Regions from separate parts of the Homo sapiens genome. Here all the other regions are linked to region 1. Evidence: promoter capture Hi-C in 16 types of primary human blood cells and fetal thymus (Javierre and others, 2016). All regions are on one chromosome and are shown on one strand. The core of a region is centred on a gene start or on the middle of the fragment in contact, and the rest is flanking DNA. Distances in the headings are between cores, read along the strand shown.

Evidence for each region. Contacts are between HindIII fragments. The CHiCAGO score rates a contact against its expected background, and 5 or more counts as called.
Region 2: the fragment with the promoter of SRA1 here is called in contact with the fragment with the promoter of HBEGF in region 1 in 1 of 17 cell types (activated CD4 T cells); the score reaches 6.1 in activated CD4 T cells.
Region 3: a fragment that was not itself captured here is called in contact with the fragment with the promoter of HBEGF in region 1 in 1 of 17 cell types (endothelial precursors); the score reaches 5.1 in endothelial precursors.

What each region holds. Positions count from the first base shown.
Region 1 is chr5:140,344,087-140,348,826 of GRCh38, forward strand. HBEGF (heparin binding EGF like growth factor) reads right to left here and starts at 2,517. Exons shown (of 6, transcript NM_001945.3): 1 at 2,197-2,517; 2 at 1,825-1,998. The coding sequence starts at 2,242. RefSeq lists silencers at 2,432-2,711, 2,752-2,801. The HindIII fragment of the contact is 6,957 bases long and covers 1-4,473 here.
Region 2 is chr5:140,555,616-140,560,355 of GRCh38, forward strand. It overlaps SRA1 (steroid receptor RNA activator 1), which reads right to left and starts at 1,858. Exons shown (of 5, transcript NM_001035235.4): 1 at 1,813-1,858; 2 at 1,532-1,657. The coding sequence starts at 1,837. It overlaps APBB3 (amyloid beta precursor protein binding family B member 3), which reads right to left. Exons shown (of 13, transcript NM_133173.3): 12 at 4,698-4,740; 13 at 2,653-3,206. The coding sequence ends at 2,970. RefSeq lists a silencer at 418-567 and enhancers at 1,091-1,912, 1,778-2,137, 2,228-2,287. The HindIII fragment of the contact is 6,646 bases long and covers 1-3,262 here.
Region 3 is chr5:140,212,546-140,217,285 of GRCh38, forward strand. The region is part of intron 2 of CYSTM1 (cysteine rich transmembrane module containing 1); the gene reads left to right. Among named protein-coding and RNA genes, the nearest start is that of CYSTM1, 40 kb to the left of the region's middle. The HindIII fragment of the contact is 3,349 bases long and covers 756-4,104 here.

The DNA of each region.
Region 1 (4,740 bases), core at 1,267-3,766:
GAGATCGTGCCATTGCACTCCAGCCTGGGTGACAGAGTGAGACTATGTTTAAAAAAAAAAAAAAGAAAAAAAGAAAAAACTCATGGCAGGCAGAGTGACTTACTCAAGGTCATGCAGGATTGGGATTAGAACTGTGTTCTCTGGACTTCACTCCAATGTCCTTCCTCACCACACCAAGCTGCCTCACACACTCCCATCTCCTCCCTCTCACAAGTCTAGAGCACCTGAGATGCTGATCCAGGCATGAATGGGCTCTGAAGTCCATAGACCTGTGCTCCAATTTCAGCTATTTACTGTGGGCAGTCACTTAACTCCTCTGAACCTCAGGTTCTCAGTAAAATGTGGATAGCCAAAGTAACTATCTCAAAAGGTTGCTATAAGTGTTACATTAGCCAGGATAACATATCAAGTGCCTAGAACACAGTAGGAATTTAATAAATGGTAGCAGTCATTTATTTTAGGTGGTAGGATCCCCAGACCTGAAAAATAGTCCTTGCCCAGCAAAGCCAAAAGAAGGGAAGAGAAGTAGGTGCCAGCAGCCCCCACAGTCTTTCATTTCCTCTCATCCAGTCCCAGGCCCCCTCAGAGCTCAGAAGGTGATACAGGTGGTCAGAGGAACCCAGTGACCAGAGCTTCGGGGAGAGCAAGGCAGGGGGGCCAAGCCAATCAGAAAGGGGAGGGAGAAGGTGCAGGGTGACAGCCAGGCTCCTGCCATGGACAGGGAGCAGTGAGTCAGGTCTGCAGAGGTAAGAGGAGCAGCCGTGTGGGTGGGGGGTGGGGGTGGGGTGAGTCACAGCCCAGCCCTGCCCAGCCTAGGAGGAGAGGGCCAGGAGAATCCAGGCTGTTCAGGTCATGGGCAACCCCAGAGGGCCACTGGGAGAGGATGAAGTATGGGAGCCCAGGCTCAGTTTTGGAGTATGTGCTTGATTTATACAAAGTAGAGAGAGTATCCAAGGAAAGCTCCTGGGAATGAGGGAGAAGGGCAGCTGAGGAGCAGGTGGAACTAGAACAGGTGGGCATCTGTCCAACCAAATATAGTCATTCCAGGGTACAGTGCTGAGTCCTTGCTCTACTCTGGATAATCTCCTCAGGTTTGGAGGCAGGAGAGCTGGCAGGCTCTGGACTCTGCCCTGTACCTGTACTTGGCCACAGCCAAAGAGGCTGGTTGGAGGATCCTACACAGCCCTCCCCATTTGGAGTCTCCTCAGGAATGCAAGGTGCTCAGTAAGCTGCAGGTTTCCGGTAGCATTCACAGATATCCAGCATTTTAATACAGCCCCCTAGGGGCTCAGTGCTCACCATTCACAGCCTCATCTAGGGCGGCCAAGAGCTCCTCATTCCCCTCTGTTTCCCCAATCTGGAGACAGGTGGATGGAGGAGGCCAACACTGCACACTTTCTAGAGATGTGCCTGGGCATCTCCGCATGTGTTACCTCTATTTTATATATAATAGTCATTTGATATGGGAATTAGAACTGGCGCCCATTTTTACATAGTAGCTCTAGGGAAAGCATCTCAACCATTCCTTGTTCCTATCACCCAGCTTACCTAAGAAGAACGTAACAACCCCAGACAACACGTCTGATTCAATTTGCCCCGGAGTACCCAGAAGGGCAGCAACCCAGCAGGTGAGGCAATGACAAGAGAGAGAGAGTGGGACCTATATTCCAGGATCCCCCAGTGCCCATCAGGCCGATCAGCTTTTCCCCGAGGTTCTCCATGAATACCCTCAACCCACAGTATTGCCCAAACAGCAAGAATCTTGGATCTGCTTATTCTTCAACAGCCCACCAAGGTCCAAGGATGGGGGGCCTCCACACCCACCTCTCAAAAGGTCCAGATCTGCCTCTTGCAAGTCACGGACTTTCCGGTCCCGGCCGCCTCCTAGGGGTAGCAGCTGGTCCGTGGATACAGTGGGAGGGTCCGGGTTGCTGGTTCCAGCAGCTAGCCCTCTCCGAAGCCGCTCCAGGCTCTCGCCAGTCACCAGTGCCGAGAGAACTGCGGGCGAGAGGCCAGGCCGCATCAGACACCCGCCCAGACCCCTGACCAACACGCACCGATGCCGACGCCCGTCCGCCAGAGCGCAAGGGCCCCACCAAGTGGCCCGTGCCGGGTGCGCTGCGGCGACCTTCCCCCATGCCCCCAGCACAACGCCCCCATCCCCCCGATCTCCGGGGGCGTCGGCAGCCCTCTTACCTGCAGCCAGAAAGAGCTTCAGCACCACCGACGGCAGCAGCTTCATGGTCCCGCACCGAGAGGAGGCGGCGAGGCACCAGTCACTTTCGAAGCGGCGGCCACTGGGCGCTGGCACCAGAGCTGGGCGGCGGAGCTCAGGAGATTCCGCCGGGCACCGTCTGCCGCCCGCCTCTGCGTGCAAGCCTGGCCGGGACCCAGGCGCAGCTCGCTCTTCTTGAGTGTCTTGTCTTGCTCACTCAGCCCGCCCGCGCGGCCGCCCGACCCCGCGCGCCTAGGTCAGGCCAGCCAGCAGCGTGGCCCGCGTAGCTCCTTCGGCCGAATGAGCGCTGCCCGGCTCGCGGCCGGGAATAAGGCTCCAGGAGGCGCGGAAGCTCCGCCCCGCCCGGCGCCGCCCCCTCCCTCCTCCCGTGCTGGGAAGCTCGCCCGGCTCGCGGCGCCGGCAGCGCAGCCCCCGACCCCGCGGGCGCGGCGGAGGACTGGGCGGGAGGAGAGGGCGGCGTTCACAATTTTTGGGACCAGGCCGAGGCAGCCGCGGCCTGATTGTGGGTAGGGCTACTGACCGGCAGGTGGCGGAGAGCGGTTCCTACCTTTCCCCAAACGCCTGTCACTCTGCAGCCTTGTGACTGACTGCTGAGCTGAGTTCTGTTCCGGGCCTGGCCTCTTGCTTCATCTAAGCCCCATACCAGGGGTCTCCATCCCTGTCACCCTCTAAGTTTCAGAAGCCCACCTTTTGGCCTACCAACACGGCAAGTATCAAATAATAATTAATTCATCTATCATTTAAAAATTAGACACGTGAATGCCAGCCGTTCTCATAAACCCGAGATAACCAGAGTTGAAGTTGCAGGCACTTAGTATCAATCCAGCAAAAGCAAAGGAAGTTAGTACTCTCTTAGTCTCTGGAGTGGCTTCCTCCCATCTTCCCTCAGGGGACATTAGGATTTTTGAACTATGGGTTGTAATTCCCAGGCTTCTGAGATTGGAGAGACACAGGTTGTGAAACAAGCCTTATTCTTTTCCTTGCCTTTGACTGCCACCTTTTTCCTCAACATAAAAAATGAGCCACCCTCCCATAGGACCCAGCTGGCTAACCTAGATTGCTGTTTCACAGACACTAGGTGTTTCTCTTCCAACCCATGTGCTTTTGCAGGGGTCTTCTGGAGTCACTGTCCTGACCCAAAGAAATGAGTGTCTCAGTAGGTATTTCAGTTTCCAGGGACGTGCTGGGGAGAGAGTTGTTTGACACAGGGCTGGGTTGGCTTTCAGAGCCCTGAAATTGTGCCAGATAGAGCACTTGCCGGATTCTGCCTGTGTGTAGGGATAAAAACAGGCCTGCTATTTATACACAGTCTATCCCACTGTCCCTCCCTATCCCCACCTTTGCAGGGGTCAGTCTGGCCCTGCCCTCTTAACTTGCTCCAGTAACCTAGGCCTAGGTTTCCATAGTGCACTGGAATCACTACAGACCTGAGTTTGAATCCTGCCTTTGCTACTTACTGTGTGACCTTGGACAAGAAACTTAATTTCACTGAGCCTCAGTTTTGACGTCTCTCAAATGGAAAAAATAATAACAATAATAATAATGACTACTTTGTAGGGAGCTTTTTGAGAAATGAATGCGGGAACACATAAAAGTAGTTAGTATAGTGCCAGGCACACTATAAGCTCTCAATAAATGTGACCCATTATTATTGTTGCTGTTAATAATAATCACTAAGCACTTGACCACTCTATTTCCTTAGAGGCCTCTTTTCTCTCACTTCTCTAGATCGCTTGCCTTCCCCTAGGCCATATCTGAGGCTTTATGATATAGTTGGGCTGGTTTCAGACAGAAGCTCACCTGTCACCTATTTGGCTAAGAGCCACTGTTAGATTATCCTTTTGGGTGATGAGTATCGGGCCTAGGACCTCAGTGCATGGTCACCGCCCAAGCCATGACTTTGCCCTCCCTCAGCAGCTGCCTGGCCACCTGCTTCCCCAAAACAAAGCCACCTTGGGGTCAAGGCTCTCCCCAGGGGAGGGTGGAGAGAAACACTTCCTGACACATGGTCAAATCACCCCCTTTCCCCCACCCTCGCCAGAGTCACACCCTGCTCTCTTGCCCCAGCCTGCCTTTCTCCCTTCACATGCTCTGTCCTTCCGCCTTCTCACCCCCACATCAGCCTCAGTCCCATTCATGGGGCAACTCCAAACTTTCATCACACCTGGAGCCTCACCCCAGCTAGGTTTGTGTGTCAGCCAGGTTTTACAGGAAGGGCCTGAAAAAAGAAGATAAAAAGCTTGAATTGGATTTGGGACAGTCACTTCCCCTCTCAGAATCTTGGATGTCTCTGAGCAAAGAAAAGGAATCACAATTCATGCTGAGGCAATCTCATTAACTCAATTATATCATAAACATTAACTGAACATTTTTGGGGGGCACTGGGGACATAGAAATAAATAAGACAGCCCAGGACCTGCTTTCACAGAGCTTATATTCTATAGTAGACAGGCAGCACATTAAGGAAATAAACAAGGAAAAACATATCCTATAGTGATAACTGC
Region 2 (4,740 bases), core at 608-3,107, 210 kb after region 1:
CTGTCCCTGGCCATATTCAAGCCCATGACATCAAATACCATCCTTGTAATGGTGACTTATTTCTCTAATTCTGGCCTAGAACATTCCCCAAAAGTAACAGCCTAAACTTCACATGGCCCCCCAAAAAAACTCCCCCTCCCCAAAACCACCATCCCCAGTCTTCCTATATCAAGCAAAAAAATTCAGTTATATGGATTCTTCCTAATCTACTCATTCCTACTGACCTTCTCCATCTCATATCCATCCAACTCCTACCACCCTGACTCCCACCCTTATGCAAATCATTAAATCTTGCCTATATTACCATAATAGCTGTAATTTGTCTTTCCACTTCCCTAAAATCTTGTTTTCACACAGCAGACACAGTGATCTTTCCAAAATGTAAATCAGTCCCTGGTTCTCAAGCTAGGAAGATAGTGCCCACAGGGCAAATGTCTGGAAACACTTTTGGCTATCACAACTGGGTGGATGCTACTGACATCTTTTGGGTAGAAGTCAGAGTTGCTGATTAACATAAGACACAGGAAAGTCCCTCACAAAGAATTATCTGGCCACAACCTATCAATACTGCTGAGTTTAAGAAACCAAGCCTTGTATCATTCTTCTACAGCAAAAAGGGTGTGGAGAATGGAGGGCCACTGAAAGAACCAAACCTGAGCCCCTTTATGGGGGCCACGGCACAGCCCATTTAATGGCTTGGAAAATTCTCGGGGGGAAAGGTGGCTCTCCTCTACTTTAAACTTTTCAATGGCTTCTAACTTTATGTAGATTAAAATACAAATTCCTCATCCTGCTTTACAAAGCCCACTATGCTGTAGCCAGCCACTCTGTATTTCATCAGTCTCTGAATTGGCCAAACTTATTCCTTTTGCAGCTGTTTCTTTTGCTTGGAATGCTTTTGTACATGATCTTTGTGTGGCTTAAATGTCAGCCCCTCAGACACCTCGTTACCCAGTCATATTACATCACCGCTTATTTTCTGTAGCACCCTCACCACTATTTCATCTTTCAGCCCATCTCCAGTGCTGCAACGTGGACTTCCTGAAAGCAGAGATCTTTTTTTTTTTTTTCTCACTGCTGTCTAGTTCGCCCTCAAACAGTGCCTGACTTATAGAAGTGCTCAGTAAATAACAGTGATTAAATGAATGAAAAACTGTGAAGTCTGACGATTATCATATACCTAAGTGAAGACAGAATGGACAAATGAATATGCCACTATACGGTTCTGGCAAGAGGTATAGGTTAACAAAGAAAAATAACTTCAGGATTAAAACTATATTAAAAGCCACAGGTCTGGATAAGATCATCTAGGATGAAAAAATAGTCTTTTTAAATCAATACACCATTTATTAACCTGAGCAGCAGAGAAGGGGCTCGGAAAAGCACCTGCTCTGAGACCCTTACTGGAGCCCCAAAACTTCTCTCCTTAAGGAGCCCTCGGGGAGAGAAAAAAGCCTTCCAAACAGGCTTATGCCTTACACCCCCCCCCCCCCATTCTCCGTCTGTCTCCGAGCACAGGGGCCCCACGCACCTCTGGGGGATCCATCCTGGGGTGCGGCGACCCTCTTGGTAAGCAGCGAGCGCCTGGGTCCGCCGGCCTGGGTCTGCAGCCCGTATGAGAACTGCGGCGGGTCGTTCCAGCCGCGTTCCTTGTTGCCTGCGGAGGCGAGGGATGTGTGAAGCGAGCCCGGAACTCCACTGTTAGCTTATACTGGGGCTGGGGGAGACAGAGGGTCCATACTAAGCGCCGCAACCGCCCCCAGCCTAGGCCGGGGCGACAACCTAGTGCCCTAGCCCGCCGGCTGCGCTCACCCGGCTTCACGTACAGCTCCGCCATCTCCACTTCCGCTTGGCCAGCGGGGCAGCGCGTCATTTCCGGGGCGGCCCCTCACGCGGGCCAGTTGAGACACGTCCAGGGCCAGGCGGGTTGCCGGAATCCGTGGAGGATGGATGCTGGTTCACAACCGTCGGGAGCCGCTGTGGGGACCCTGCGGCAACTCCCTAAGACTCGAAGGCTCCATCTAATGAACCATCAGGGCCCTGGTCACAAGGCACCAAAGGAGGTTGCTGTCCAGGAGCCAGTGCTCTAGGAGGCCTCATCCTCTCAGGAGCAAATTCAAACAAAGAAGCTCCTGCCCCACATACACCCCGCTGTGATCTAGCCAGGTTGACTTCTACAGCCTCCTCTTGCATTGCCCTGCACAATCTCCACATTCACGTCCGGTAGCCTCACTAGTACTCATCTTCCTTCAGTTCTCAGTTCAGATGTCAGTTCTTCAGGAGGCCTTCTGGAATGTCTCAGGCCAGGTTAAGTGTCTCACTTGAGCTCCCACGACCCTACAACCCTCTGAGATTTCGTAGGTGTATTACATCACATCTTCTGCCTTATTTGACTCTTGTTCGTTTCCCTGTCGGACAGTCTTAGAAGGTGGGACCTTGACTATTTTATTACATTCCCAGTGCCCAGCTTAGTGCCTGGCACAGGGAACTCCTTAGAAAATATGTTTGTTGAATGAAGTCAGATCTCCATCACACCCATGCTGTCATGTGACTACAGAGAGCCACCAACATCAAGCACAGACACAAAGACACTCATCTCACACAGGGTGTTAGCCCCCAGCCCTGTCCCAGGCCCAATATACTCACATCCAGTGAGGTCACTGAGGGATTTTTATTTGCACTGATTTTGCTATAAAGTGTTACTGAGGTAGAGCCAACTGTCCAGGGTTGGACAGGGGCAAGGAACACAAGGACCCAAGGAAAGGGGAGCCAGGGTCCTACGTTGTGGTGCAGTGCCTCCCAGTCATCCGTATAAACAATAAATTGGGCAATAAATAGACGGTGGACAAGGATCGGAGGGACAGGCAGAGAAGGCTTCAAGGAGTGACAGGCTATAGGCCTTGAGGAATAAAACGGTACAGAGTTAGGCATGGACCCAGAGCCTACTTCCCCAGCCTTCCCAGATAAGTTTAGGGCATATGGAGCAGAGAGGGTTTCAGCCGGAAGGCATCAAGAAAAGAGAAGACACCCCGCTTTCGAGGGGTTGCCCCTGCACCGCCAACCCCTCCTTTGAGCAGGGGGAGGGGCAGGGGACCTCCTGGGGAATCCATGGAGCTGGTCCGCTTGAGCCGCAGGCGGGCACGGGCCTGGGCACCCCAGGCCTTGCCTCGAGCTGCAGAGGCCACAAGACACTTCTGGTACTGAACCTAGGGAGAAGGGGAATGTGAGGATCCAGCTACTTTCTGCCTCTAGACTCCCTGAAAGCTTCTGCAGGACAGGGAACTGGCCAAAGCTTCTGTCTGATAACAAGGTTGGTAGTCAGCCACATGTGGAGTTTCTAGAGCATTCCCAGGTAGCTCAATAACAAAATCATAAAACATGTATCAGACACTTAAGGAGGGCAGGCTGGACACTGCTAAGTGCTTTGTATAATTCAGTTATTTATGAGGGGTTATTATCCCTGTTTTGCAAAAGAGGAAATTGAGATTCAGAGAGTATATGACTTGCCCAAGGTCACACAGCCAGAGAAAGGCAGAAATGGCATTCAAACCTAGTTCTCTCTGATTGCAGAGCCTAAACTCTTAATTACATGTACCACTATGTTGCCTCTTTTCCATCTCTCACTGGTGGGGACTAGTCCCTGGCAAAGCAGATTCCCTAGTCAAGGGTAAAGGTGTACAACTCAAACTCCAGCCCCAATGCAACTGCTCCCAGTCATCTCATCTGAACAGCTCAAAGGTGTCCTAATTGGCCTTCCTACCTCCTATTACGTCCTCCAAATCTTTTACCCATACTATAGCTTAAGTGGTCATCCTAATCCATAACCCTGACTTCACTCTCGGGCTCCAGTGCTTCCTAGTGCCTCCAGATAAACTCATCACCCTGACCTATGAGGTCCCCCAAACCTGGCTTCTGTCATTCTCTCTGATCTCACCTCTCACTACGTCCCCCTTGCATGCCAGATACACTAGATTCTTTCAGATACTCTCATCCACTAATATCTCTCACCTTCACAGCTAAGGTTCCCTGTGCTTGGTACACCTGCCCCACTCCCCTTCACCTGGCTAACTTCCCTCTTGGACTGTCGGATTTCTATCACCTCTTACAGGTAGCCTTCCTGACCCCTAAAGGGGCCACCTCTTCCATCAACCAGTGGTGTACAACTTATTTCTGGTCTATCTTGGCTCTATCCTAAGTGTTTTGTGAAGGCAAGGGCTGTGCCCTCTACAGCACTAAATTCTCAGGGTCAGCTATGGTGTCTGGGACCCTGTAGGCACCCATATTTGTTGAATGAATGGGCAAACTGAACTAACGAAGTATAAGCAACCCACACTCAAATGCCCACAGATGCCAGGAAATAAACCTAAATGAGACAAACAGGAACAATGCCAACTCTTTAGGGCACAGCTTCTGCACAACTCTGGCTGCATGCTGACACTTACACGTGTGAACTGAGTGCCAGAGCTCTTGATATTTTAAGAAAAACAAGAATAGCGATTATTATGTGAAATGTCCTGGCCTTTAAATATTGGCAACTAATTAAAACTTACTAAAAACAACATGAGGGCCAAAACATTAATGAACCAGAATCAGCCCAGGTTTGTGATCTCTGAAGAGGCTGCCGACCCGGAGCCCAAGTAAACAGTGGAGAGCAGCTGCAGGGCAATCCCACCAACCCATTCCCACCCATGACTCACCATACAGGCAGCCTGCACAGCTTCAGAGAGTCCCCCTGCATGG
Region 3 (4,740 bases), core at 1,180-3,679, 130 kb before region 1:
ATCCTCCCACCTCAGCCTCCCAAGTAGCTAGGACTACAGGTGCATGCCACCACACTCAGCTAATTTTTGTGAGCCACCATGCCCGGTCAGGAGTACACTCCAAAATATCAATTTAAAGTATAGTAAATATATAAACTAAGGTCAGGCACAATGGCTCACACCTGTAATCCCAGCACTTTGGGAGGCCAGAGTGAGTGGACTGCTTGAGCCCAGGAGTTTGAGACCAGCCTGGGCAATATGGCCAAACTCCATCTCTACAAAAAAATAGAAAAACAACCAGGCGTGGTGATACACGCCTGTAATCCCAGCTACTAGAGAGGCTGAGGTGAGAGAATCACTTGAGCCCAGGGAGGTCAAGGCTGCAGTGAGCCATGATCATGCTAATGCACTCCAGCCTGGACAACAGAGTGAGACTCTGTCTCAAAAACAAAACAAAAGTATATATATATATATATATATATATATGAGAGAGAGAGACAGAGAGAGAGAGAACTCCTATTTTTTTTTTTTAAGTTAACCATAAAACAGCCTCAGGCAGGTCCTTCAGGAGACATTCCAGAAGAAGTCATTAGAGATGAGCTCCATGTATGTTATTACCCCTGAAGACCTCCAGTGGGACAAGATGTGGAAGTGGAAGACAGTAATGTTAATGATACTGACCTTCTGTAGACGTAGGCTAATGTGTGGGTTTGTGTCTCAGTTTTTAACAAAAATGTTTAAAAAGTAAAAAATAAATAAATTTTAAAAATAGAAAAAGCTTATAGAATAAGGGTATAAAGAAAAAACAGTTTTGTTTAGCTGTATAATATATTTATGTTTTAAGCAAAGTGTTGGTAAAGAGTCAAAAAGTTTAAAATTTTTTTCAAAGTTACAGTAAGCTAAGGTTAGTTATTGAAGAAAGAAATTTGTTTTATAAATTTAGTATAGCCTAAGTGTATGGCAGATAGTGTAAGTGTTCAGTATATATGAAGTCTGCAGTAGGGTATTGTAATGTCCTAGGCTTTCACATTCACTCACTTACTGACTCATCTAGAGCAACTTCCAGGCCTGTAGGCTCCATTCATGGTAAGTGCTCTATATATGTATACCAGTTTTTATCTTTTATACCACATTTTTACTGTACCTTTTCTATGTTTAGACACATAGATGCTTACCATTGTTTAAAATTGCCTACAGTATTCAATATAGCAACATGCTGTACGCATTTGTAGCCTAGGAGCAATAGGTGATAGTATATATCCTAGGTGTACAGTAGGCTATACCACCTAGGTTTGTGTAAGTACACTATGATGTTCACACAATGACAAAAATGCCTAACAATGCATTTCTCAGAACATATCTCCATCATTGAGAGATGCATGACTGTATTGTACTGTTTTGTATTTTGTCAGGGAATATCCTTAAAATACTTCAAACTTAACTATAGCACAATGTGTTAGCAGTGGTAAAGGAGGAGGAGTCTGCGGGTAAGATGGTTTTTCTCTGGTGGTACTCAATTGCAACTCTCTTCACAAAAGCAGATGAGAATGGTTTTTAGTGAGTGTACTGGGGACTCAGCACCATCTTAGGCTCTCATTCCTTCTGACTTAGGTCCTTAACTTGACAGACCTACTCAGTCAGGTCCAGCACTTCAATGATGGTCTCCCTAATGACTGCACCAGCAGTGGATCTGAGTGTCATGTGATGACAGTGTGGTCATGACACTAAGGGACTGTAGACTCAAAGATGCCCTTGGATTTTTCCATCTTCTTGGGGATAGAGACAATCTGTTTTGGTCAGGTACTTTATGTAGAACATTCTATTTTGCCTTTTTAAAAGCCTCGGTTTGCCTAGCACTCAGAGGTAATGGAGTGAGGAAAGACAACTGCTCTTTGCAGATCCAATTTATTCAGCTGGCTGATGGGATGTGATCTGTGCTTGAGGGCTGAGAGCAGGCTGGGTTGGCCAGACCTGGCTGGCCTGGGGAAACAAGGTATTTTGAAGTCTGCTGCTTCCAGACCAGATGGCCTTGCTTCATTGTTCTTAGGCCCCTTTCACCCAGGAGCAGCCTGGTTTTCTGCTTTGATACTACTTTTACCCAGTCTTAAAAAACATGACACACATATGCCTATTATCTCTTGCATAGCTTTCTTCAGTTAGCTTGTTATAAACAATGAGGACATTGGTTTTGTGGGCAAGGAAAAGAAGACTACTTTGGGTAGTAAGGGAAATTGGAAGGCACAGGTGGGATAGAGTAGGGCAGTCTTAGAAGGATTGGAGCTAACCAGGCATTGTCGGGACCTCCCTATGTCAGCTGCACTCTGCAGAGCAAGTCCAGTGCTGTAGGTCATTGGTGTGGGGACCATCCGAGGTGACACGGATCTTCCCCTAGGATATATTCTTCCCAGTAGTAATGAGCCATTCCTGTACAGAAAGGGCCCAGGCTCCAGGGCCTGTGCATAGGGTGGTATGTCTCTTACCACACCAGCTGCCTGTGTGGCACAGTGCCCGTAGGCACCTAGTGCAATCTTCCCAGTGGTCAGTGTGGTTAGCCACAGGGGAAACTTGAGAAGGAACGTCTTGAAAACTGACAGCTTTTTTTCATTCTCTAAAGATTCTCATAGATTTTCATGGAAGTCACTCTCAGGAGAACTGTCTATACTAGTAGAATTTGGTGCCTTTTAAAAAATCAATTATATTCTGCTTATATTGTGGCTCCTTGGAGCCACAGAGTTGAGATGCTCTAAAAATCAGGACATGACATAGAATTATTATAATTAAAATGCTGAAAATGAAGATAGCAAGGATTGGTATCTTTATCACTGGATGAGAACTTAGCACAGCAGACAGTAACACAAGTGTGAGGACCAAGTCCAGAGCGATCAGTGGTCCAGAAGAGCTGGTTTCTTCCAAACCCCTACTTAGTTCAGCCCTGATAATAGGCTGCAGTTCCTGTTCCTGGGTTATACCCTGGCTCTCACACAGAGAAACCTGGCCACTTTTTAGAAAATCACTTTTTAAATTACAGAAATACTTTTCCTTTGACAAAGTAAATAATATGCATAATTTATTTGCATATTATTTACTTTGCATTATTAATGCATAACTGCTGCCCAGAGATAGCAGTTAACATTTTGGTATAAATGTTGTGATATAGCCCTTTTTGAAATTCATCTTGTGTGTTAGTCTCTGTCCAGAGGATGTATTTGCAGCTAATATAATGCTACATAAAAGTGTTGTTAGTATGTTGGTGTAGGGTGGGAAATAAAAAAAATAGTGTTGTTGAGTGTGTTGTTTTGTGTGTGTATATTTTTAACTTTAAAAAGTCTGTATAGGCGGGGCACAATGACTCACACCTGTAATCCCAACACTTTGGGAGGTCAAGGTGGGTGGATCACTTGAGCCCAGGAGTTTGAGACTAGCCTGGGCAATGTAGGAAAACCCTGTCCCTACAAAAAATACAAAAAATTATCTGGGCATGGTGGCACGTGCCTGTAGTCCCAGATATTTGGGAGACTGAGGCCAGAGAATCACTTGAGCCCAGGAGGTCAAGGCTGCAGTGAGCTGAGATCACTCCACTGCACTCCAGCTTGGGTAACAAAATGAGACCCTGTCTCAAAAAAAAAAAGTTTGTGTAACTTTATATAGTCTGTATATCCTCAGCTGTATCTCAGTCTCTTAGAATATGCAAGTCTTAAGGAGTGATTATCAGCTTTCACCGATGTCTCCATTTCAAATGTTAGTATCACACAGTTGATGTCATGCTGGGTTTTTTACCCACAGAGAGGTTAAGGGACTTAAATTTTACATAAATTGATTAAGCCAGGTATGTTACGCATACTCTCTGAATCCAGTGAACCTGTATCTGTAAGAGCTAGACCTTTGGGGATACAGAGCTGAAGAGGACCCAGCTTCTCCCCTGTGAGCTGAACTGGCAGTTTGGCAGGGGATGGGGGTCCGTGGAGACAGACCCATTGAGCAGATCATCGCAGTGTTTGAGTAACCTGCCCTGGTTTTCTGCTGTTCCAGGCTTACCCTGGCTCTCTGAGGGAGTGGGTTCCTTCTCCAGGAAATATTTACTTTCCTATCAACTCCCTTGGAAAATCTTATCAGCTTGTACCAGGAAGCTTGCTGCCTGTATGCTATCAGGGCTGCAATGCTTTTGGTCTCGAGAGGCTAATACTGCTCCCTTCCTTTTCTCTCCCTGCTGGGCTCAGTGGCCTTTTCCTCATTTGATCAAGGGTGCCTTGTGTAGCCAGGCTGGGATCCTGATTGGAAAAGGTAGCATACTCCTAAGGTTGCCCTGACCCATCCTCAGGGCTTTCTGAAGTAAGGGGAGGAAGTAGAGCCCTCTCCCTCTATGACACACACACACACACAAAGAGCATACGCATTCTCGTTCTGGGGGTTGTACCTGAGCTTTCTCTTGAGGTTCTAGTCATCAGGCCCTTTCTCCAGGAACACACTTGCTTAAAGACTATAACTTGGGAACAGCTTAGAAAAGATTTTGATGATTTTCAATTGCATTTTCCTTAGGGAAAAAAAAATCTCCATTAGGCTTTTTTCTTTCTTTTTTAAGTAGCGCCTTGGTTTCCTCTGAGCTTTTCCATTTACCCTTGAAATGAGTCCATTTGCTAGCCTGGGATACCTTTTCAGCCTGGAGAATTTTAGAGACAGAGACAGCGCAAGATTATATTGTGAGTTCTTAATGGGTAAAAGTGACTTTTTGCTTTTGGAGAGAATGTATATCATGGGTAATTT